2 separate regions of the Homo sapiens genome follow, and region 2 is linked to region 1. The links are contacts of gene promoters, found by promoter capture Hi-C in human tissues and cell types (Jung and others, 2019). All regions are on one chromosome and are shown on one strand. The core of a region is centred on a gene start or on the middle of the fragment in contact, and the rest is flanking DNA. Distances in the headings are between cores, read along the strand shown. Region 1 holds the start of LGALS2 (galectin 2). Region 2 overlaps LOC105373024 (a long non-coding RNA gene).

What was found. Contacts are between HindIII fragments. The study calls those that stand out against the background at their distance.
Region 2: a contact is called between a fragment that was not itself captured here and the fragment with the promoter of LGALS2 in region 1, in 1 of the 25 tissues and cell types used here (spleen).

The regions. Positions count from the first base shown.
Region 1 is chr22:37,576,335-37,581,920 of GRCh38, reverse strand. LGALS2 (galectin 2) reads left to right here and starts at 1,834. Exons shown (of 4, transcript NM_006498.3): 1 at 1,834-2,021. The coding sequence starts at 2,016. RefSeq lists a silencer at 1,448-1,507. The HindIII fragment of the contact is 22,309 bases long and covers 1-5,586 here.
Region 2 is chr22:37,321,483-37,327,328 of GRCh38, reverse strand. The region is part of intron 1 of LOC105373024 (a long non-coding RNA gene); the gene reads left to right. Among named protein-coding and RNA genes, the nearest start is that of CYTH4, 42 kb to the right of the region's middle. RefSeq lists an enhancer at 1-12. The HindIII fragment of the contact is 3,069 bases long and covers 1,635-4,703 here.

The DNA of each region.
Region 1 (5,586 bases), core at 585-3,084:
CCACCTTTAAAAGGTATAGTTTCTGTTGATTAGTTTCCAGGGAGAAAGCCTTTTAAAATTCCTTATCTCACTGGGGTTTTACCATGCCTTTGGGAGAAAGGCCGAGAGAGGATTAATTTCCTTGTGGGTGAAAGGAGGAAGTCACTCCTCACTCCGGGCTGGCAGGGGACTGAAGGTGGTGTCCTATGTGGGCACTGGGCAGTGAGCCACCTGCAGACTCCTGGCACCGAGGGCCCTCGGCAAGGCCAGTTCCCCACATCCTGCCCGGAGTGGCCACCGCCAACTCTGATGGAAAACGCTCTGGCTCGCCAAATCCTGAGCTCTAGAAAAGTTCTCCTTCTGGGAATCTGCCCTACATAAGTTGTCACGATGCAGCCAAAGTTTATGTCCAAATAGATTTAATGCAGCAGTATTTTTAATAGCAAAAATGTAGAATTAATGTGAGTGTTCAGCAGAAGGAAATTGGTTAAATAAATTCAGTCGTTGAAAGGTAGACTATTTCGCAGGCATTAAAGTATGGTTCTGAAATATAGATTTGTGGTCTTTAATGTTTCCCAAATGAAGAGAGATAAACAATTGCACAGACAGAGGGGTGTCTATAATGTAAATCTGTGGAGAACCGCCTGGAAGGAAATGTGCCAACAGCGTAAGCCAGTTCCCTCGTGGCGGTGGCATTATGAGTGATTATTTTTCTTTTTATTTAATATCTCTAATTGTCTATAGTAAGCATGCCAGTTACATAAGTAACAGAAGTCAAGAGCAAAGCATTTTCATCCTCCATGTCCCCCACTCAGCCCTCCCACTCCTTCTGCACTTTTATTTATTTTTTATTTTTTTATTTGAGACGGAGCCTCACTCTGTCGCCCAGGCTGGAGTGTAGTGGCGCGATCTTAGCTCCCTGTAACCTCCACCTCCCGGGTTCAAGCGATTCTCCTGCCTCAGCCTCTTGAGCAGCTGTGACTACAGGTGCGACCACGCCCAGCTAATTTTTGTATTTTTAGTAGAGATGGGGTTTCACCATGTTGGCCGGGCTGGTCACAAACTCCTGACTTCAGGTGATCCGCCTGCCTTGGCCTCCCAAAGTGCTGGGATTACAGGCTTAAGCAACCGCGCCCAGCTCTCCTCTGCTTTTGACCATTTGTTGTAAATAGTTTGAAATCTTTTCTTTGAATCCGTGTATTGGTTTTGAAACCTACATGTCCGATCAGATAAATAATATGGGGAGGGAAGAAGAAAACATAATGCTCTCTGACAATGAATCATAACATCATAGAAAATTAGAACCTTAGGCCAGGCGCAATGGCTCACGCCTGTAATCCCAGCACTTTGGGAGGCCAAGGTGGGCAGATCACGAGGTCAGGAGATCGAGACCATCCTGGCTAATACGGTGAAACCTCGTCTCTACTAAAAATACCAAAAAATTAGCCGGGCATGGTGGCGGGTGCCTGTAGTTCCAGCTACTCGGGAGGCTGAGGCAGCAGAATGGTGTGAACCCAGGAGATTGCATTGAGCGGAGATCGTTGCCACTGCACTCCAGCCTGGGTGACAGAGTGAGACTCTGTCTCAAAAAAAAAAAAAAAAGAAAATTAGAAACCTAGACTTTTTTTTTTTTTTGCAAAGCAAATCTCTCTTTTTACAGGCAAGGAAGCTGGGCTAAGTGAGGGAGGCTGGGAGAGCTGTCAAGCGGCTGCATTGCGGTTTGTGTGGGGGCAGAGCTGGGGCTGCTTCCCCTCTCGGGCTCTGGGAGCGCTGAGGAGGGGGAGGCTGGGCTGGAGGGAGGCCAGGAGGATGCTCCGGGCTGGGTGGGGTGGAGCTGGCTGAGGAGTCTTCTGCCTGTTTGTGCTGGGTACTGGGAGATGCAGGCGGGGAGACACAAGGTAGAAGGGGCAAAGTCCTCACCTAGGACCTTGAGGGAGTTAATGTGTAATATTCTAGGATATAAGCTTGACCACGAGTTGAGACCCTGAGCACAGGCCTCCAGGAGCCGCTGGGAGCTGCCGCCAGGAGCTGTCACCATGACGGTGAGGACACTAGCCCCCTGCTGCCTGCCCCACTCTGTTCATCTTTGTCTTTGCCTGGGTGGGGGCTTTTAGGGAAAACCATTGCTGTCCCTCTCTGGGCCTCAGTTTCCCCATCTGTGCAGCAAAGAAGTTGGACAGAGGTCTTTTTTTAAAAAACAGCATCTTGGGCCAGGCGTGGTGGCTCCTGCTTGTAATCCCAGCACTTTGGGAGGCCGAGGCTGGTGGATCATCTGAGGTTGGGAGTTTGAGACCAGCCTGACCAACATGGAGAAACCCCGTCTCTACTAAAAAAATACAAAATTGGCTAGGCCTGGTGGCACATGCCTGTAATCCCAGCTAATGGGGAGGCTGAGGCAGGAGAATCACTTGGACCTGGGAGGCAGAGGTTATGGTGAGCCGAGATTGTGCCATTGCACTCCAGCCTGGGCAACAAGAGTGAGACTCCATCTCAAAACAACAACAACAATACAGCATCTTGCTCTGTCACCAGGTGGAGTGCAGTGGTGGCAATCATAACTCACTACGGACTTGACCTCCTTGGCTTAAATGATCCTCCCACCTCAGCCTCTTGAGTAGCTGGGACCCCAGGCACTCACTACCACACTGGCTAATTTTGTTTGTTTCTTTTCTTTCTCTTTTTTTTTTTTTTTTTGAGATGGAGTCTCGCTCTGTTGCCCAGGCTGGAGTGCAGTGGCCCGATCTCAGCTCACTGCAACCTCTGCTGCCTGGGTTCAAGCAATTCTCTGGTCTCAGCCTCCCAAGTAGCTGGGATTACAGGTATGTGTCACCACACCTGGCTAATTTTTTTTTTTTTGTTGAGATGGAGTTTCTGTTGCCCAGGCTGGAGTGCAATGGCACGATCTCGGCTCACCACAACTTCCACCTCCCAGGTTCAAGCGATTCTCCTGCCTCAGCCTCCTGAGTAGCAGGGATTACAGGCATGGGCCACCACACCCGATTAATTTTGTATTTTTAGTAGAGATGGGGTTTCTCCATGTTGGTCAGGCTGGTCTTGAACTCCTGATCTCAGGTGATCCACCTGCCTTGGCCTCCCAAAGTGCTGGGATTACAGGTGTGAGCCACTGCTCCTGGCCTAATTTTTGTATTTTTAAAGTAGAGACAGGGTTTCACCATGTTGGTCAGGCTGATCTCGAACTCCTGACCTCAGGTGATCCGCCCACCTTGGCCTCCCAAAGTGCTGGGATTACAGGTGTGAGCCACCCCACCCAGCTTATTTCTTATTTTTCGTAGAGATGAGGTCTCACTATGTTGCTCAGGCTGATATCAAACTCCTGGGTTCAAGGGATCCTCCTGCCTTGGCCTCTCGAAGTGCTGAGATTACAGGTGTGAGCCACTGTGCCTGGCCTCCATTGATCTTTATAGAGATAAAAAAAAATCTCAGCTTGGGCAATATAGTGAGACCTTTTCTGCTACAGGTGCATGCCACTACGCTTTGCCTTAAAAAATTAGTGGGGGTAGCGGCACACTCCTCAGCCTTGGGAGGCTGAGGATCACTTGAGCCCAGGAGGTCGAGGCTACAGTGAGCCGTAATTGCACTACTGTACTCCAGCCTGGGCAACAGAGTGAGACCTTGTCTCATATACCCACACACAAAACCCAAGTCTTGGAGAGCAAATTGCCCAAGGCCACAAGCTGCAAATCACAAGGGGTTGAGTGGATTCCCACTGAGGTCTCTGATTCGTTGATTCTACACCAGACTCTGCCACAGCTTTACTGTGTGGCCTTGGCCAAGTCACTGACCGTCTCTGAGCCCCAGTCTTCCTTACATCTGTGGAAGGGGATCACAGGCTGCCTCTTCTGAGGATTAGATGGTGTATTCATTGCCTAGGGCTGCAATAACAAATTACCACCAAATTGTGGGTGGCTTCACACGATAGACGTTTGTTCTGTCTTGGTTTTGGTGACTAGAAACCTGAAACCAAGGTGCTACAGGGCTACGCTCCTGCTGAAGGCGCAAGGGGAGGGTTCTTTCTTGCCTCTTCCAGCTTCTGGTGGCTCCTCGCATTCCTTGGCTTGCATCACTCCAATCTCTGCCTCCAACTTCACGTGGACTCCTCTGTGTGTCTCCGTCTCTGTGTCTATATTTCTCTCCTCTTATGAGAACACTGGTCGTATTGGATTTAGGACCAACCCTAAACCAGTATGACCTCTTAACTCGATTACATATGCAAAGGAACTATTTTTAAATAGGTCACATTGAGGCTGGGCGGGGTGGCTCACCCCTGTAATCCCAGCACTTTGGGAGGCCGAGGCAGGCGGATCACTTGAGATCAGGAGTTCAAGACCAGCCTGGCCAACATGGTGAAACCCTGTCTGTACTGAAAATACAAAAACAAAAAAGAAGAAGAAGAAGAAAAAAAAATTAGACAGATGTTGTGGTGGGCACCCGTAATCCCAGCTACTTGGGAGGCTGAGGCAGGAGAATCGGTTGAACCCGGGAGGCAGAGGTTGCAGTGAGCCGAGATCGAGCCACTGTACTCCAGCCTAGGTGACAGAGTGAGACTTCATCTCAAAAAAAAAAAAAAAGGTCACATTGACAGGTTCCAGGTGGACATGAATTTTCGGGGGACGCTATTCAAGTGCAGGGGGGATGCAGGATGTGAATGTGCCAGGGGTCCTGCGTGGAAGGGTCTATGCCCTCATCACCCTCTGCCTCTCGGGGAGGACTGCTGTGGCCCACGGACTCTCCCCACCTTCTCTTTCCTGGTCATCTCACCTCTGCCTTTTCTTTCCTCTCTCTCCAGCTCCAGAGGCCATATCATCCAAATCCCTTATACGACAGATAAGGGAACCAAGGCCCAGAAAGGGGCTAAGCTGGCCCCAGGCCCCTCTGCCAATTAGGGGCAGAGTCGGCACTAGAGTCTGGGCCCCCAACTCCCCACCCCCCCAGCTCTAGGGACGACCACACCCCCACCCAGTTCTGCCTGTCTCTCTCTGCGCCTTTGACTCTGTTGGGTGGGGACAAGGCTCCCGGGCCTGCACCCTCCCGCAGCTCTCAGCATCCCTATTTGTCCAAGTGCACCCCTGACCCTGGACTTCCGAGTGCTTCTGCCCTGCAGCAGCCCCCACCTCTATCCTTGGGGTTTGAGCTTTGCTGTTTCAGTCAGGCAGCCCCCAGGAGCTGCAAGGGGAGTGTGGGTGCTTCTCTTAGTCCAGGCCCAGCTCCCCTATCCTGGCCTGACTGTTGCAGGGCTCGGGGTGTGGGCACAGGCTGCTGGCAGGAGGCAGGGAGCCATCTCCTGATGCTTGGTGTTAGACGTGTGTGTGCGCAGGGCACACGTCTGTGAGTGTCTGTGTGGCGGGCACACCTGTCTTCTGTTTCTTGTTTGAGCCCCTTTTGGACTGTCCTCACTGGATAACCTCATCTCCCAGAGATAATGGTCTTTGTCAGTGAGAGACTGATTTTTTTTTTTTTTTTTTTTTTTTTGAGACGGAGTCTCGCTCTGTCGCCCAGGCTGGAGTGCAGTGGCGCCATCTTGGCTCACTGCAAGCACCGCCTCCCGGGTTCACGCCATTCTCCTGCCTCAGCCTCCCGAGTAGCTGG
Region 2 (5,846 bases), core at 1,920-4,419, 260 kb after region 1:
AATGTTTGCTGAGGCCGGGTGCGGTGGCTCATACCTGTAATCCCAGCACTTTGGGAGGCCGAGGTGGGCAGATCACCTGAGGTTAGGAGTTCGAGACCAGGCTGACCAACATGGTGAAACCCTATCTTTACTAAAAATACAAAATCAGCCGGGCATGGTGGCGCATGCCTGTAATCCCAGCTACTTGGGAGGCTGAGGTAGGAGAATTGCTTGAATCCAGGAGGCAGAGGTTGCAGTAAGCTGAGATTGCGCCATTGCACCCCAGCCTGGGCAACAAGAGTGAAACTCCGTCTCAAAAAAAGAGAAAGAAAATGTTTGCTAAGAACCAGTGTGGGGCAGGGATTGTGCTGGGTGCTGGAGGTGGAACCGGTCAGGCTGGGTCACTGACGGGAGAGGGTGGCTGGAGGCCAGGTTGATAAGCTTGGAGTGAGGACAAGCAGGATGAATGGGGGCAGGGGATGAATATCTTGAGTTCAAAGTGCATCCACCCAGGTAGCCGTGATTCGGGATGGGGAGGCAGCAAGCAGCAGGGGCTTGGCAAAAGTCAAAGGCATTTCTTTTTCTTTCTTTCTTTCTTTTTTTTTTTTTTTTAGACGGAGTCTCACTCTGTTACCCAGGCTGGAGTGCAGTGACACAATCTCAGCTCACTGCAACTTCTGCCTCCTGGGTTAAAGCGATTCTCCTGCCTCAGCCTCCCGAGTAGCTGGGATTACAGGCATGCGCCACCACTCCTGGCTAATTTTGTATTTTTAGTAGAGATGGGGTTTCTCCATGTTGCTCAGGCTGGTCTTGGATTCCTGATCTCAGGGGATCCGTCTGCCTCGGCCTCCCAGAGTGCTGGGATTACAGGCGTGAGCCACTGCACCGGGCCGGTCAAAGGCATTTCTAAGATGGGTGCTGCCAACTGTGCTCAGGGCTTTCCCAGCCTTCACTTCATCCTCACTTAATGGCATTCCCATCTGTCCAGGTGAGAAAACCGAGGCGTAGAGGCTTCATCGTTGCCCCATTATTGCAGGGATGGGCAAAGCTTTTCTGGAAAAGGCTACATAGTAAATATTTTTGACTTTACGAGCCATGCTTCTTGGTCAAAACTATTCAACGGTGCCACCGTAGAGGGAAAGCAGCCATAGACAGTACCAGAAATAAGTGGGTGTGGCTGTATTTTAATTAAAAAAGTGGATGAACATGGAAATTCAAATTTCATATAATTTTCACATGTCAGGAATTTTTTTTTTTATCTTCAGAAATAGAAAAAACCTAGCCGGGTGCAGTGGCTCATGTCTGTAATCCCAGCACTTTGGGAGGCCGAGGAGGGTGGATCACCTGAGGTCAGGAGGTTGAGACCAGCCTGGCCAATATGGTGAAACCCCATCTGTACTGAAAATACAAAAAAATTAGCCGGGTGTGGTGGCCCGTGCCTGTAGTCCCAGCTGCTTGGGAGGCTGAGGCAGGAAACTTGTTTGAACCCAGGAGGGAGGGGCTGCAGTGAGCCGAGATCGCACCACTGCACTCCAGCCTGGGCAACAAGAGCGAAAACTCCATCTAAAAAAAAAAAAAAAAAAAAAAAAAAAAAAAGAAAGAAAGAAAAAGAAAAAGAGAAAAAAAAGAAAAAAAAACATGCTTGGTTTCTGGTTGTACCATAACAGTTTGACAGGATTTGGCCTAGGGGCTGTAGTTTGCCCACCCCTTGGGGGATGGTTGGGAGGTGGCAGAGCTGGGGTTCAAACTAGGTTCTGCGAGCCCACGGGCTTCTGGACCAGATCAGCTCCAAGTGTGTGCCGGACCTCAGCCCCCTGGTCTTTCCCTTTCGGGTTGGTTCTCCCATCTTGGGATGCACAGAGCATCCTGCTTCTACGCTGCCCATTTTGGGCAGGAGGCAGTGTGCCGGGCAGGCCAGGGGATCTGAATCCCCCAACTCGGAAAAGGGTCCCCGCCCAGCCACTTGCCAGCTTGGAAGACTGGAAACCTCTCTAGGCCTCAGTTTCCCCACCTGTAAAGTGGGGCATAGCAGATAACTCACCCGCAGGGTCGCCGTGAGGCTGCAGTGAGAATATACCTTGAAACGTCTCCCCACCCCGCGGCTGCCTCAGTTTCCCTCCTCCCCTCCTTGCCTCTGAGCCTGGTCTACACCTGCGCCGCGGCCTCTCCCACCTCCCCCACCGCCGTCCCCCTCCTTAATGCGGAGAACGACATCCTGGGTGTCTCCCAGCTGCCTCCTGCGCACGGACGGTTTCTCGAAAGCTTTTAAAAACGAGGCTCCCTCCCGGCGGCGGCAGGGAGGGTGGGAAGGGGGGCGCCCACCCTCGGGAGCTTCCCCGGTGGGCGGCGGCGGCCGCTCCCAGCCTTTTCGGGAGATCTCTGGCTGATTATTATGGAAATCAGGCCCCAGCAGCGCGCCCGGGTGGCGCGGGAGCGGGAGGCGCTTGGTGCGGCTGAGACGCGCTGAGGACCCGCTCTGCCAGCCAAAGGAGCGGTGCGGGGGAGGGGGCGTGGGAGCTTCCCGCGCTCCTGGGACACGCGTGGCCTGTTCTGGCCCGGGTGCCCGGGTGACACTGTTCCCGCGCAGGGCCGATGGGCTGAGCTGCAGCCGGAGGGGCTGGGGTCGCGCACGGAAACCTGGGCGCCCAAGTCTGGGAGTTCATTTCCGCCGGGACCTGGGCCCTTGATATCAGCGGTGCTGGATATTTTCAGTGCAATTAAAGGCAAAGGCAGTGGGGTTCACGCCACCACCCCAGGAACAGAACTGGGGCGTGTAATGAGCTCAAGCCCTGTGTACTGGGCGCGTGTACTCGGCGTCCAGCACCGACCTCAGGGCGCTGATCTATTTAAATCCTTCCGTTGACTTGGGCATGGTCAGGCCCATTTTATGGATGAGACAACAGAGACCCAGAGAGGCAAAGCTCACACGGCCAAAGCAGTCGAGGAGAGACCTGAGCTGGGAGTTGTCCAACTCCTCTGGCCAGTTCTTACACCTTCGGTCATCCTGTCTCCAACCTGAGGATGATGCCTTTGACCTTCCAGCCGCGCATCCAGCTCTGGCCTGCCCTGTGCCTCTCTGCGGGGGGACTCTGCAAATGGGGAGAGAGACAGCGTGGCTAATGTCGAGGAGAGCTGAGGGTGGTGGGTTGTCCTGGTGCTGAGGGGCTCTTGGTTTCTGACTATGCCTTCTATCACCACCACAGGGTTTGAGTTGAGCCAGGATCCCCCACCCCCACCACCCCTCAAGGTGCAGGAAATCTCATCATTCAAAATCCATTTCCTTTATATTGTCACATTCTGGAGAAGGGCTCCAATCTAAGCTTAAAAGTGATAGAGAAAATAAAAATGGGAAAGTCAGATGGATTCGGCCACTTTGTAAGCCAGAAAAATGGCCCCAGCAGACAGGTGAGCAACAGCTTTGGAAAAATCTCTAGCAATCAAGAACGGCCATGGGGGTTTATCTTTGCTCTGTAATGATCCCAGGCAGACGGAGAGGAAAGGCAGAGAAACCTGCAGGTGAATGGGCAAAGGGCAGGAGCGATGATTCACACTAGAAAGGAAACACAAATGCTTAACCCTCACAGGGAGAAAGTCCATTCCCACTCAGATATGAAAGGAATACAAATGTTAATCAATGCAGTTCCATTCAAACTCACAAATATTTTAAAACATAAAGTTATTTAATTTACCGCTGAATAACTGTAACTATTTTTAACTGAACTCATGGTTACCCTGGTAGTCCATCCTCCCAACTGCTCCAATTCACAGATAGGAACCTAGGCTAAGAGAGGCTAATTGCATAATTTGCTCCAGGTTAGACCTCTGGTGAGTAGCTGAGCAGGGTCACCTGTTCGGTGGCAAAGTGGTGGCATCTGGCCGGGCGCGGTGGCTCATGCCTGTAATCCCAGCACTTTGGGAGGCTGAGGCAGGTGGATGACCTGAGGTCGGGAGTTCAAGACCAGCCTGACCTATATGGAGAAACCCGGTCTCTACTAAAAATACAAACTTAGCCAGGTGTGGTGGCACACGCCTGTAATCCCAGCTATTCAGGAGGCTGAGGCAGGAGAATCGCTTGAACCCGGGAGCTGGAGTTTGCAGTGAGCCGAGATTGCACCACTGCACTCCAGTCTGGGCAACAGAGCGAGACTCCATCAAAACAAACAAACAAACAAACAACAAAAAAACCCACAAACAAACCACACACACAAAAACGCAAAGGTTAGGCTTCATCCCAGCCCCCGTGGATCAGAAACTCTGGCGCTAGGGACCAGCAATCTGTTTTAAGGAGCTCTCCAGGTGAGCTGGAGGCTACAATTAGAGAATGACTGCTCTGGGCTCCAGGAGAAGGTAAGGAAAGCAGGTACGTGCTTTCGCTGCAGAAGGCAAATTGTATTGTTTCAACCTTTTTGAATTACCTATGGATAACAGGTATTGTGAGCCTGTAAACGGCCACCAATGGCACCTCTGAGAAGCCACTGAGAAGTAGACATGGTTTTATCCATGGAGGTATTTAAGACAATGTATTTATAAACATGGAATACTGGAAACAGTCTGAGTCTCCAGCAATAGGGGACTGGGGAGAGAAACCTTGGTTCATCTAAAAGATGGCTGCTGTGCAGTTTTGAAAAGTGAGTGTGTAAAGACCGCACAACGTGGTACAATAGGAGCAGACAAGTCCTCCTGGGTTGCCCAGGACTTTCCCAATTTTAGCACAAGAAGGCCGGCATTTTGGAAAACTCCTTGGTCCTGAGAAAATGGGGACAATTGGTCACCCTAGCTATAATCGGCACTAGTGCCACACCCCAAGTATTACTGTCCTCCCATGTTGCATGGCCGGTGGTAGGATGGTATTTCATCTGGCCTTGCAGTGAGGTAGCTATGTGACATGTTTTGGCCAATGCAATGTGAGCGGAAGTGGCATGTCACATCCAGACAGCGCTCCTGGCAATTCATGCCAGGATGGCACCTCCTCAGCCTAGGTCCCTGAGTGACTATGATAAGCAGAGACTCCATGCCGATCCCTACCCTGCAATCCCAGGGCATAGGGTGTGAGCAAGACATAACCTCTTGTGGTGTGTGAAGCCACTGAGATTTGGGGATATTTGTTGCCACAGTGTAACCTAACCTGTCCTGGCTGGTATACACGTGGACATCCGGATTTCATAGTTTTAAGGCTTAAGTGTTAGGCCGGGCATGGTGCCTCACACCTGCAATCTCAGTACTTTGGGAAGGCCGAGGCGTGCAGATCACTTGAGGTCAGGAGTTCGAGACCAGCCTGGGCAACATGGTGAAACCCCGCCTCTACTAAAAATACAAAAATTAGCCGGGTGTGGTGGTGCATGCCTGTAATCCCAGCTACTCGGGAGGCTGAGGCAGGAGAATCGCTTGAACCTGGGAGGAGGAGGTTGCAGTGAGCTGAGATTGTGCCACTGCACTCTAGCCTCAGGGACAGAGCGAGAATCTGTCTCCAGAAAAAAAAAAAAAATTGGCTTAAGGTTACAAAACTGCATTTGCAGTATCATTGCAGAGACATAACAGGTGTGTTGGAAATATTCTGAAATGTTTACAAAATTATCAGGTAGAGGAATTCTTGGTCTAGGTTTTTTTTTAACTTTTAGGATTGGGATACATGTGCAGGTTTGTTATATAGATAAACTGCCATGTGAGTTTGGTATACGGATAATTTTGTCACCCAGGTAATAAGCATAATACCCACCAGGTATTTTTTTCTAATCCTCTCCGTCCTCCCACTGTCCACCCTCCAGAAGGCCCCAGTGTCTGTTGTCCCTCTCCTAGTATTCATGTGTCCTCATTATTTAGCTTCCACTTATACGTGAGAACATGCGGTATTTGGTTTTCTGCTCCTG